Regions from separate parts of the Homo sapiens genome. Here all the other regions are linked to region 1. The links are contacts of gene promoters, found by promoter capture Hi-C in blood cells and fetal thymus (Javierre and others, 2016). All regions are on one chromosome and are shown on one strand. Each heading gives the region's core, a stretch centred on a gene start or on the middle of the fragment in contact. The rest is flanking DNA. Distances are from core to core; before and after follow the strand shown. Region 1 holds the start of GNRH1 (gonadotropin releasing hormone 1). Region 2 has its middle 46 kb from the start of DOCK5. Region 3 has its middle 25 kb from the start of DOCK5.

What was found. Contacts are between HindIII fragments. The CHiCAGO score rates a contact against its expected background, and 5 or more counts as called.
Region 2: a contact is called between a fragment that was not itself captured here and the fragment with the promoter of GNRH1 in region 1, in 1 of 17 cell types (neutrophils). The highest score is 7.5, in neutrophils.
Region 3: a fragment that was not itself captured here is called in contact with the fragment with the promoter of GNRH1 in region 1 in 1 of 17 cell types (neutrophils); the score reaches 5.2 in neutrophils.

What each region holds. Positions count from the first base shown.
Region 1 is chr8:25,422,487-25,426,341 of GRCh38, forward strand. It overlaps GNRH1 (gonadotropin releasing hormone 1), which reads right to left and starts at 1,775. Exons shown (of 4, transcript NM_001083111.2): 1 at 1,715-1,775; 2 at 704-845. The coding sequence starts at 844. The HindIII fragment of the contact is 12,746 bases long and covers 1-2,900 here.
Region 2 is chr8:25,136,534-25,140,388 of GRCh38, forward strand. No RefSeq gene overlaps it. Among named protein-coding and RNA genes, the nearest start is that of DOCK5, 46 kb to the right of the region's middle. The HindIII fragment of the contact is 2,928 bases long and covers 660-3,587 here.
Region 3 is chr8:25,157,638-25,161,492 of GRCh38, forward strand. No RefSeq gene overlaps it. Among named protein-coding and RNA genes, the nearest start is that of DOCK5, 25 kb to the right of the region's middle. The HindIII fragment of the contact is 371 bases long and covers 1,562-1,932 here.

The DNA.
Region 1 (3,855 bases), core at 525-3,024:
GCAGTGAGCTGTGATCGTGCCACTAAATTCCAGCCTAGATAACACAGCGAGACCCTGTCTTAGAAAATAACCCCAAAAAACAAGAAAGCAAGTACCTCACGTTAGTGTTGGTGCCAGTCCTATAATCTAATCTATATGAATTTAAATCAGCATGTTTTCTACTACGTTATCTTATCATCTTGAGTTTGCTAATTCCTGTATTCTACCAGTCTCCAACTTTGCTTAAATGCCCCTATCAGTGAAAAGAAATTATAGGGCATGCATCCTTGATAAGGATACTCATTTATAAATTATAAAAATGTACTGATCTAATAGCATAGATATGTTTAAAAGATGAAATGAGGAAAAAAAAAACGAAGTTCTAACGTTTTTTCCAAATCCCAAAGAATCATCTTCTGATACAGACCTTGACCCTATCCCATTGTTTCTAATTCCTTTAGCAATCCCATACACTCAGAGTATGACGTGCTGTCTCACACTTGTTGCTATTAATATATTCTTTTGGAATTTTTCCAGCTCTTTGTTTAGTCCCTGTGTGAACTGAAAGTAGGAATGGGACTTCTACTTTGTAAGTGCCTTATCTCACCTGGAGCATCTAGGGTACAACATCATAGAATATTGACATTGGGGCTATCCTGAATGTTTAATATAGTTAAATTGAATAAAATCACTATGTCTTATTTTGAAGCTGAGAGAAACTTACCTCTTGGAAAGAATCAATCAAATTTTCGGCATCTCTCTTTCCTCCAGGGCGCAGTCCATAGGACCAGTGCTGGCTGGAGCAGCCTTCCACGCACCAAGTCAGTAGAATAAGGCCAGCTAGGAGTTTTTGAATTGGCTTCATTCTAAGGCACATGAATGCACAATCAAATTAGATCCAGACAAGGTTGAGTATAAACTAAAAGACCTCTTTAGTGAAAAAGCTAGCATCTGTATCACTAACCCTGCAGAAGATGGAAGTCAGAGTCAGTTTTTACATACAGACACTGAAACTCAGAGACACTTGCTGGCTTGCCTTTAGTTTCTTAGCCACTGGGGACAAAATGAGTACTTAAGCTCACATGTTCAGGACCTTTTTAGTACTAAAATAGTCTATACTTTTATTTTTATTGTTTGGTTATCCAAACCCCATAATTCATCCCTTATCAAGTTCATCATTTTGCCTTAACATTTCCCCTGTTGTGGATTGGTCTTCAACTCTTTCATTCCTGAGATAAAGAGAACTGAGTCATCTGTTAAGAAAAGTAGCTCCTACTAGGAATCTCTGGCTAATATAAAATTGCTTGACATTACATGGCTACCCCATGGTACTAATGACATTTTTCTATTTATCCTTCAGTCTTCCTAGCATTACTGCTGGCTGAACCATCTGTGGGAGAGAGGACTCAACACTGTTCAAAGTAGTTAGTCCCAGACCAGATGCCTTCCTAGCCAAGGGGGCCTCTAATTTTCTAATGAAATGTGTCTCCAAGTTAATTTTCATTTGATGGGAAAGAGGCTAAAAACTAAATCAAACACTGGTCGATAAGCTGTGGGAGTCCCCAAAGCCTGGATCTCTGTGGCTGGTGATGGCAAGGACAGTGAAGGACAGGACATCATTAGATACCGTCACACCTGGATTTAGCCCTTGGGCTGTCAAATGCCCTGTAGACATACAATAGCATGCAATCTAAAGAAGAAAAACTCGTGCTAGAAATAATACAAAGCCTTTTACCTGTTTAGAGGCAGAGAGCCAAAAAGATCCCAATCTTCCCTTGAAGTAGGTTGAGTACTGTGACTTTTCTGTTTTCCTATCTTCCTTTTTATAGGGAATTTTTCCAGGACATTGAAATCTTTCCTGCTGGTAAATTATACTGCAAATGGACTATGCTTTTTTTTTTTTAATGGTAATTTTTAAAAATCCTCACATAAAGCCCTTTAATGGTGTATGTAATTGGAACACCCCCTGGTATATCTGTTAGATTTACTTAAGTGCAGCCATTAAAACCTCAGCTAAAACTTTTATAGCTGAGGACACAATTCAAAGAGATTAAAATCCAGCTAGATTGGATTCCCTTGAGGAAACCAGCAGACCTATCAAGAGTTCAAGGAAAATAGATGTCTTAGATTAAGTGAAGTCAAATGCATACATAACTTCCACAAAGGAGGCTATACAACAAATATAGGACATTGAGTCAGGATGTCTGGGAGCTTCTGGCTCTTGGATTCTTCATTTGTAAAAGGAAGGGTGTAGACTAGATGGACTAGATGATCACAGAGTTGCTTCCAATTTTAAAAATCTGATTTACAAGTAAGTGACACTATATACCAAGTCCATGTAGGATCCTAAATCAGACAGTTGTGTGTTTGAAAATTCCCTCATCTACCCACCAGGTTCCCTGCTTGACTTACCTTGAAAGCCTTCTAAAGCATCAAAAAGGCAAGAAACATATTCTGAGAGCAAGACCATATTGAGCAGACTTACATCAACAGATCAACTCATTTCAGTAGATGCTTATTGAGTTAAATATGCAAATCACTCTTAAGGGCAGTGGGAACAGAAAGATGAGAAATTATAGTTATTTAATAAATAGCAAATGTATAAGAGCATTCATTACAATAGCCATGCAAAGTGGGTATCATTATCTAAATTTTATAGATGTTCCACCCCAGAGGTGCAACCGTGGACGTGTTATTTACACAGGACAAGCATGTAAAATACACACACAACCATTACTCTTAATTACATTTATTTGAATACATGGTTGTCTTCCCCTAATTTACCCCTAGGCTGAAACCTGTAATAGTCAAAGATCCCATCTTATTTAAATCTCTCTTAATAAACCCCCGGCATTTAGTGAGCATTCAGTAAGTATAGGTTTGAATGAATGAATGAACGAATGAATGAATAGAAAGCAAAAAGCTTTTAACCAGGTAAGGCCTAATGCTGCCTCTATTTCTGCATCAAAGATATGCTTTATCTGACACAGAATTAAACTTTCATGTATAATTGGCTGTAAATCCTGTTATATTAGCTAAGCTGTAAGATGGCTAAAAAAAATAACTGGATATTTGTTCATTTTACAGCTGGGAATGGCAATTTCCCCTCATGTAGGATGCTAAACCCATCAGTCATTGCACAGTCTCCTCTGGAATAACTACATTTGCAGGGATTTCAGAGTAAAGAGAAATGGTGTCTTACCTAAGTAAATTCCCTTGCTTTGTCCAGCCATCTCTGTGGAGGCTGTCCAGTCCTCATGATAGGATAGAGAAGGGAGTACACTTTAAAGTATAACTGCAAATAGAGGAGAATTTAAAAATAAAATGTAAGTATTTGACTTTGTTCCATTTAAATTATTTCATTTAGACACTTTGACTCATGTAAGTGCCATTCTGACATGAAGAGTGGAATCTCATCTCACTACAATATGCAAGTAGGGACAGACTGTTTTTCAACCAGAGTTCATTATGGTTGAATAGTGCTAGTTTAAATTGTCCAATTGGTTTGTGTTTGCTGAGAGATGTGCCTCTAAGTATTGCTTAAGTAGAAAATGTGGTCTCTGGATAGGACTAATGAAATGAGAGTTAAGACTTGTGATGCATATTGTCAGGTGAATCACTTATCTCTGGGTAGGTAGGCCTCACTGGATTTCTTGTAGGTTATTTCTAACAGTTGGGATTAAATTTTTGAAAAATGTTTTGAAATTATTAAGATGAACACAGCAATATTGTATTACTCAGCATTCTCTAGAGGGACAGAATACATACACACACACACACACACACAAACACACGCACATAGGAGAGTTTATTAAGTATTAACTCACACGATCCCAAGGTCCCACAGTAGGCCGTCCGCAAGCTGAGGAGCAAGGA
Region 2 (3,855 bases), core at 874-3,373, 290 kb before region 1:
GTCTTTGCTATCGTGAATAGTGCTATGATGAGCATATGAGTGCATGCCTCTTTTTGATAGAACAATTTATCTGGTTTCATGTATATACCCAGTACTGGAATTGCTCCGTCAAATGGTAGTTTTGTTTTAAGTTCTTTGAGAAATCTCCCCACTGCTTTCCACAGTAGCTAAACTAATTTACTTCCCCACCGGTAGTGTATAACTGTTCCCTTTTCTGTCCATCCTCACCAGTACCTGTTATTTTTTTACTTTTAATAGTAGCCATTTTGACTGATGTGAGATGGTATCTCATTGTGGTTTTGATTTGCATTCCTCTGATGATTATGATGTTGGGCATTTTTTCATATGTTCATTGGCAACTTGTATGTCTTCTAGAAGTGTGTGTTCATGTCTTTTGCCCATTTTTAATGGGGTTATTGGTTTTATGTTTGTTGAATGGTTTAAGTTCCTTATAGATTCTGGATATTAGACCTTTGTCAGATGCACAGTTTGCAAACATTTTCCCCCATTCTGTAGGTTTTCTGTATACTCTGTTGATAGTTTCTTTTGCTGTGCCAAAGCTTTTTAGTTTAAATAAACATGAATTCAAACTAGATTCCTGTAAGCATGCTAGTGGTAATCCAGGACAACCACCAAGAAAATAACTCAAATTTCAGGAAAGCTTCATTATAGAAAGTATTTGTTTGAGGGCAACTTGACATGATTTCTTATTCAGGAATGGCCCAGAAAGAGTGTCATTGATCTCTCTCTCACTTGGCCATAGCAACCCAGATGGGATCTTTCAATATGGAGGGCAGTTGCCTTCGTGGTTTTCTACTTGCTCTACCTGCCTTTGGGAAATCTTTTTGGAAACTTGCATTCACAGAGCAAAATATCTGCACAGACTGGACCAGTCATTATCGAGCCAAATCAGGCCAGAAATGTCTCTCAAGGATCTTCAGAAAGATGTAATGGATGGCCCAGATTATCCAAATTGTGGTAAATGAAAACATTAAAGACATCAATGAGTGTTCAAAGAACAGATTCCGTATGGCGTCCAATAGCGTAATTGAAAGGACTTGAAAGATGTGAAGACTGAGAGTAGAGAAGGAAAATTTTGAAGGAGAAAATAGGTAATTCAAAAGTAATAGTTGGAGTTATCAATATCCCATTTTCTTTTTCTTTTTTTTTTTTTTTTTGAGATGGAGTCTTGCTCTGCCACCCAGGCTGGAGTGCAGTGGTGTAAACTCAGCTCACTGCAAACTCTGCCTCCCAAGTTAAAGCAATTCTTGTGCCTCAGCCTCCAGAGTAGCTGGGACTGCAGGCGCCTGCCACCACGCCAGGCTAATTTTTGTATTTTTAGTACAGACGGGGTTTCACCATGTTAGCCAGGCTAGTCTCGAATTCCTGACCTCAAGTGATCCACCCACCTCAGCCTCCCAAAGTGCTGGGACTATAAGCATGAGCCACCACACCCAGCCAATATCCCATTTTCAATAGTGGGTCGAAAGCAGGCTGAAGAGCAATAAGATGACTAAAAAAAAAACTATAAACTAATCCTACCTAACAGACATCTATAGAACAATGTACTCAAAAAGATAGAACACAAATTCTTCTCGAGTTCACATGGATGATTCTCCAGGATAGACTATATGCTAGGTCATAAACCAAGCCTCAATACATTTAGGAAAGTTGAAATCATACAAAGTATGCTTTCTAACCACAGTGGAATAAAAGAAAAAAACAATACAAAGAAATTTGGGAAATGCACACACATTGAAATTAAACAATATACAATTAAATGACTAATGAACTGAAGAAAATCATAAGGGAAATTAGAAAATTTGAGATTAATGAAAATGAAGATACATCATACCAAAACCTATGGGACACAGCTACAGCAGTGCTTAGAGAGAAATTTGTAGGTATAAATTCCTATATTAAAAAAGAATAAACACCTCATATCAACAACCTAATGTTCTATTTTAAGAAACTTGAAAAATAAGAGGAAGCTAAATTAAAAGCAGAAGAAAGAAAATAAAAATTCGAGTTGCAATAAATGAGACAGAAAATAGAAAAACAGGGAAAATCAATAAAACAAAAAGTATTTTATTAAAAAGAACAACAAAACTGACAATCTTTTAGCTATACTGACCAAGGGAAAAAAAAGAAGACTCAAATTACTAATTCCAGAAATGAAAGAAGAGACATTACTATTGACCTTACAGAAATAAAAAGAAATATAAAAGAATATTTTGAACTATGGTATGCCAACAAATTAGATAACCTAAATGAAAGGAGAAATTCCTAGAAAGCCAGAAAGTCCTGAAATGGACCAAAGAGAAAATCTAAAATCTGAATAGACCTGTAACAAGTATTAATTTTAAAAAATGAATTAGTAAGGACCAGGCCTAAATAGCTTTACTGGTAAATTTTACTATATGGTTAAAGAATAGCTAACACCAATGCTTCTCAAACTTCCAAATAATAGAAGAAGAGGTAACACTTCTCAACTTATTCTAAGAGGTTTGTATCACCTTGAAAGCAAAAGAAATCACAAGAAAACTGCAAACAAATATCACTTATGAATATATTTGCAAAATTTATCCACAAAATACTAGCAAACCAAATCCAACAACATATAAAAAGGATTATACCCTTTGATTAAGTGTGATTTATCACAGGACTGCAAGGTTGGTTCAACATATGAAAATTAATCTATATAATAATCCATATTAATAAATAAAGCAAAAACCCACATAATCATCCCAATAGACACAGAGTCTGACAAAATCCAACATTTCATAATACAAACACTCAATAAACTAAAAACAGAAGGTAACTTCTGCAACCTTATAAAAGACTTCTGTGAAAAAGCCACAGCTAACATTATACTTAATGCTGAAATATTGACAGATCTCTCCTTAGATGAGGAACATGACAAGGATGTCCAATTTCAGCACTTCTATTCAATATTCTAATGGAGGTAATTAGACAAGAAAAAGAAATAAACAGCCCTTTGATTGGAAAGGAAGAAGTAAAACTATCTCTATTTCCAGACTGTGTCTTGAAACTCCTAAGTAATTCACAAAAATCTATTAGAACCAATAAATGAATTTATCCGTTTTCAGGATACAAAATCAACATAAGAAAATGAATTATATTTCTATGCACTAGCAAAGGACAACTGTATTAGTCCGTTCTCATGCTCCTATGAAGAAATACCCAAGACTGGGTAATTTATAAAGGAAAGAAGTTTAATTGACTCACAGTTCTGCAGGGCTGGGGAAGGCCTCAAGAAATTTACAATTGCAGCAGGAGCAGGAAGTGCAGAGCAAAGCAGAGCTTGAGAGGGAAGCCTCTTATAAAACCATCAGATCTCACGAGAATTCACTATCAGGAGAACAGCATGGAGGTAACCACCCCCATGATCCAATTACCTCCCGCTGGGTCCCTCCCATGACACCTGGGGATTATGGGAACTGCAATTCAAGATGAGATTTAAGTGGGGACACAGCCAAGCCATATTAACAATCAAAAATGAAAACAAGTGCATTTACAATAACATCGAAATAATAAAATAAATAAATTTAACAAAATAAGTGCAAAGCTTATACTAACAATTATAAAATGTTGAAAGAAATTAAAGAAGACCTAAATATATGGAAAGATGTCCCATTTTTATGGATCAGAAGTCTCAGTATTATTAAGATGGTAACACTCCCCAAATTTATCTACAGATTCAATGCAGTTGCTATTAAAATCCCAACTGACATTTTTGCAGACACGGAGAAGCTGATCCTAAAACTCATATAGAAATGCAAGAGACCCAGACTAGCCAAAACAATCTTTAAAATTAAGAACAAAATTGGAAGA
Region 3 (3,855 bases), core at 497-2,996, 260 kb before region 1:
CTGCTTTCCACAGTGGCTGAACTAATTTATATTCCTACTAGCAGTGTATAAGTGTTCCCTTTTCTGTGCAACCTCACCAGCATCTGCTGTTGTTGTTGTTGTTGTTGTCGTCGTTTTAGACGGAATCTCACTCTGATGTCCAGGCTGGAGTGCAGTGGCACGATCTTGGCTCACTGCAACCTCTACCTCCCAGGTTCAAGCGATTTTCATGCCTCAGCCTCCCAAGTAGCTGGGATTATAGGCATGCACCACCACGCTTGGCTAACTTCTGTATTTTTAGTAGAGATGTATTTTCACCATGTTGGCCAGGCTGGTCTTGAACTCCTGACATCAGGTGATCCGCCCGCCTCGGCCTCCCAAAGTAATGGGATTACAGGCGTGAGCCATTGCATCCAGCCGCATCTGTTGTTTTTCGACTTTTTAATAATAGCTAATCTGACTGGTGTGAGATGGTATTTCACTGTGGTTTTGATTTGCATTTTTCTAATGATTAGTGATGTTGAGCATTTTTTCATATGCCCGTTGGCTGTGTGTATGTCTTCTTTTGAAAAGTGTTCATGTCCTTTGCTCACTTTTTAATGTTTTTTTGTTTTTGTTTTTTGTTTGTTTGTTTTTTGCTTGTTGATTTAAGTTCCTTACAGATTCTGGATATCAGACCTTTGTCAGATGCCATAGTTCGCAAATATATTCTCCCATTCTGTAGGTTGTCTGTTTACTCTGTTGATAGTTTCTTTTGCTGTGCAGAAGTTCTTTAGTTTAATTAGGTCCCACTTGTCAATTTTTGGTTTTGTTGCAATTGCTTTTGGCATCTTTGTCATGAAATCTTTGCCAGGGCTTATGACCAGAATGGTATTTCCTAGGTTTTCTTCCAGGGTTTACAGGGTTTACATTTGAGTCTTTAATCCATCTTGAGTTAATTTTTACATATGGTGTAAGGAAGGGGTCCAGTTTCAGTCTTCTGCATGTAACTAGCCAGTTATCCCAGCACCATTTATTGAATAGGGAGTCCTTTCCCCATTGGTTGTTTCTGTCACAGAAAGTTAATATATATTTTTTTAAGCTGATGAATTAAGAAATAGAGATATAGAAGCAAGTTATCTAGCATTTCATGTCAAATAAGCCAAAGAACTAGATAATAGAAGCAGTCAAAATTATTGGAGGTGAATTCACTTTTTACTTTATATCTCTGTGCTACTATTATTTTTTTAGTAAGTATGGGAGACAGAATAACGGTTCCAAAGATGTCCATGTCCTAGTCCTAGGAACCCATAAATATGTCACCTTACATAGTAAAAGAGATTTTGTGGATGTGATTAGGCTAAGATTGTGAGATGGGGAGATTATCCTAGAGTCTCTGGATGGGCTCAATGCAATTACAAGGGTCCTTACAAGAGGGAGGCAGGAACGTGAGAGTCAAAGAGGAGATGAGACAATGGAAGCAGATTGAAGTGATGCACTTTGAAGATGGAGGAAAAGGCCATGAGCCAAGGAATTTGGGTAACTTCTAGAAGCTGGAAAAGGTATGAAAATGATTCTCCCATAAAGACTCCAGAAAAAACAAAGCTTTGCCAACATTTTGATTTTATCCCTAAAGACTCATTTTGGACACCTGACCTCCACAACTTCAAGATAATAAATTTGCATGGCATGGCAGCTCATGCCTAAATCTCAGCTACATGGGAGGCTGAAGCAGGAGAATTGCCTGAATCCAGAAGTTCAAGGTTGCAGTGAGCCATGATTGCACCACTGTACTCCAGCCTGGGTGACAGAGTTCCCATCTTTAAAAGTTAATAATAAAAATAATATTTTAAGACAATAAATTTATGTTGTTTGAAGCCACTAAATTTGTGGGAAATGGAATGGAGTCCTACTCTTTTTCCTTGGTGAAGGTAGGAAGGGGCATATTTTCATTTTATATGTATTAGCTTAAAAAGCTTTAACCAGCCAGCAAAACTTCAGGACTATCCCTTATGTCCCTGAAGGCCCAAATACTAAATTATCAGACACAGTTCTGTCCTGAAAGACTTCAACATAGAAGAATTTTTTGCCATCCTACCCACCTGCAGCTGACCTAGGAAGCAAAGCAATGTCCTTATAGAAGGACAGCTCTGAGAAGTCTAGAGGCTAGCCCTCCCTAGCCCTCCCACCTGACCCTGTCGTGGCCATCCATTATGAAATTGATGTCACCATCAGTCAGAGAGATTGCTAAGAGGTCACAGGACATTGCCTAGGAAATCCAGGACATGGCACTATTTTAGCCAGGCAGATTGGGGCCTCGCTTCTTGTATCACGGCTCCAAGTCACCATTCTCAGCGGGGAGGGGTCTTTTTTTTTTTCTCCCAATGCCAGAACTTTACCCTTTAGAAGAAGTGTCCAGCAGAGTGACTTCCAGGCACATCACTAATTTAGAGCAATATGGCAACTTTTTTTTTTTTTTGAGGCAGGGTCTCGCTTTGTCACCCAGGCTGGATTGCAGTGGCATGATCACAGCTCACTGCTGCCTCTACCTCCCAGGCTCGAATAATCCTCCCACCTCAGCCTTCTGGGCAGCTGGGACCACAGGTGCAGGCCATCATGCCTACCTAATTTTCTGATTTTTTGTTGAGACCAGGTCTCACTACTTTGGCTCAAGCAATTCTCCTGCCTTGGCTTCCCAAAGAGCTGGAATTACAGGTGTAAGCCACTGCACCCAGCCTATGTAATGATTTTGAAGGCACTACAACTCTTGGTCTGACTAGTGGCCATTTATAAAGGCACCCTCACCCCTAGCCTTCTCACTTTTTATCACAACTACATCCTTGGTGGTCTTAGCTCAGGAAATCTGGTTGGTATAACTCAAGTGAAATACAATCTTTCTCCCACGGAAAAAGGAAAAGAAAGTGACCAGGGCAGGTGAGGAGCTCAATTGGGAGCTCTGAAATGTAGCATAGAGGAGTTAAGGGGGAACTAAAATAGTGCATTGCAGCTCCTTTTACAAAATTTCTCCATCAAAACCCTCAACACACTCAAAAGGGTTTGCATTTTATCCAACATCCTGAGGTGTTGATGTTTCTCCTGTACCTCCCAAGTCTCTCCTGAAACAGCATTCTTTTTTTTTTTTTCAGCCAATGGAATTGTTCTCCCAGCTACTCAGGAGGCTGAGGCAGGAGAATGGCGTGAACCCGGAAGGCAGAGCTTGCAGTAAGCCGAGATCGAACCACTGCACTCCAGCCTGGGCGACAGAGCGAGACTCTGTATCAAAAAAAAAAAATAGAATGAGTAGATTTTTCACTGCTTTGGTTCATGGAAGGAATATTCATTTTTAGGGGGAAAAAACCCAACTTAATGAATAAGTACTGGGACAAACACAAAATTTAATCAACAGAACATATACAAGCAAAAAAGGACTCAATTTAAGGACAAAGAGTTCTCTTTTAAGAGATTATTATTGCGTGGTTGATCCATGGTATACTACAGCAAGATGAAAAGACAGTGTGACATCAGTATAAATCCATCATTTGAGCCCATTCTCCCAATGAAGACACTGACACCATGAAACCCAACAACTGGCCCCAGGCCTGTCAGGTAGTAAGTGGCAGAGCCAGGAACTGAATCCAGATGTCCTGATTCCAAGCCCTGGGCTTCCTTCCTGGTCAAGCTGCCTACCTGTTAGGAACCTTTGTGGATACCAGTTGCCTTACCTCTATATCATATGACTCAACATAGAAGTAATGTATATCCGGTGAAACCCTGTCTCTACTAAAAATACAAAAAACTAGCCAGGCATGGTGGCGGGTGCCTGTAGTCCCAGCTACTCGGGAGGCTGAGGCAGGAGAATGGTGTGAATCTGGGAGGCAGAGCTTGCAGTGAGCCGAG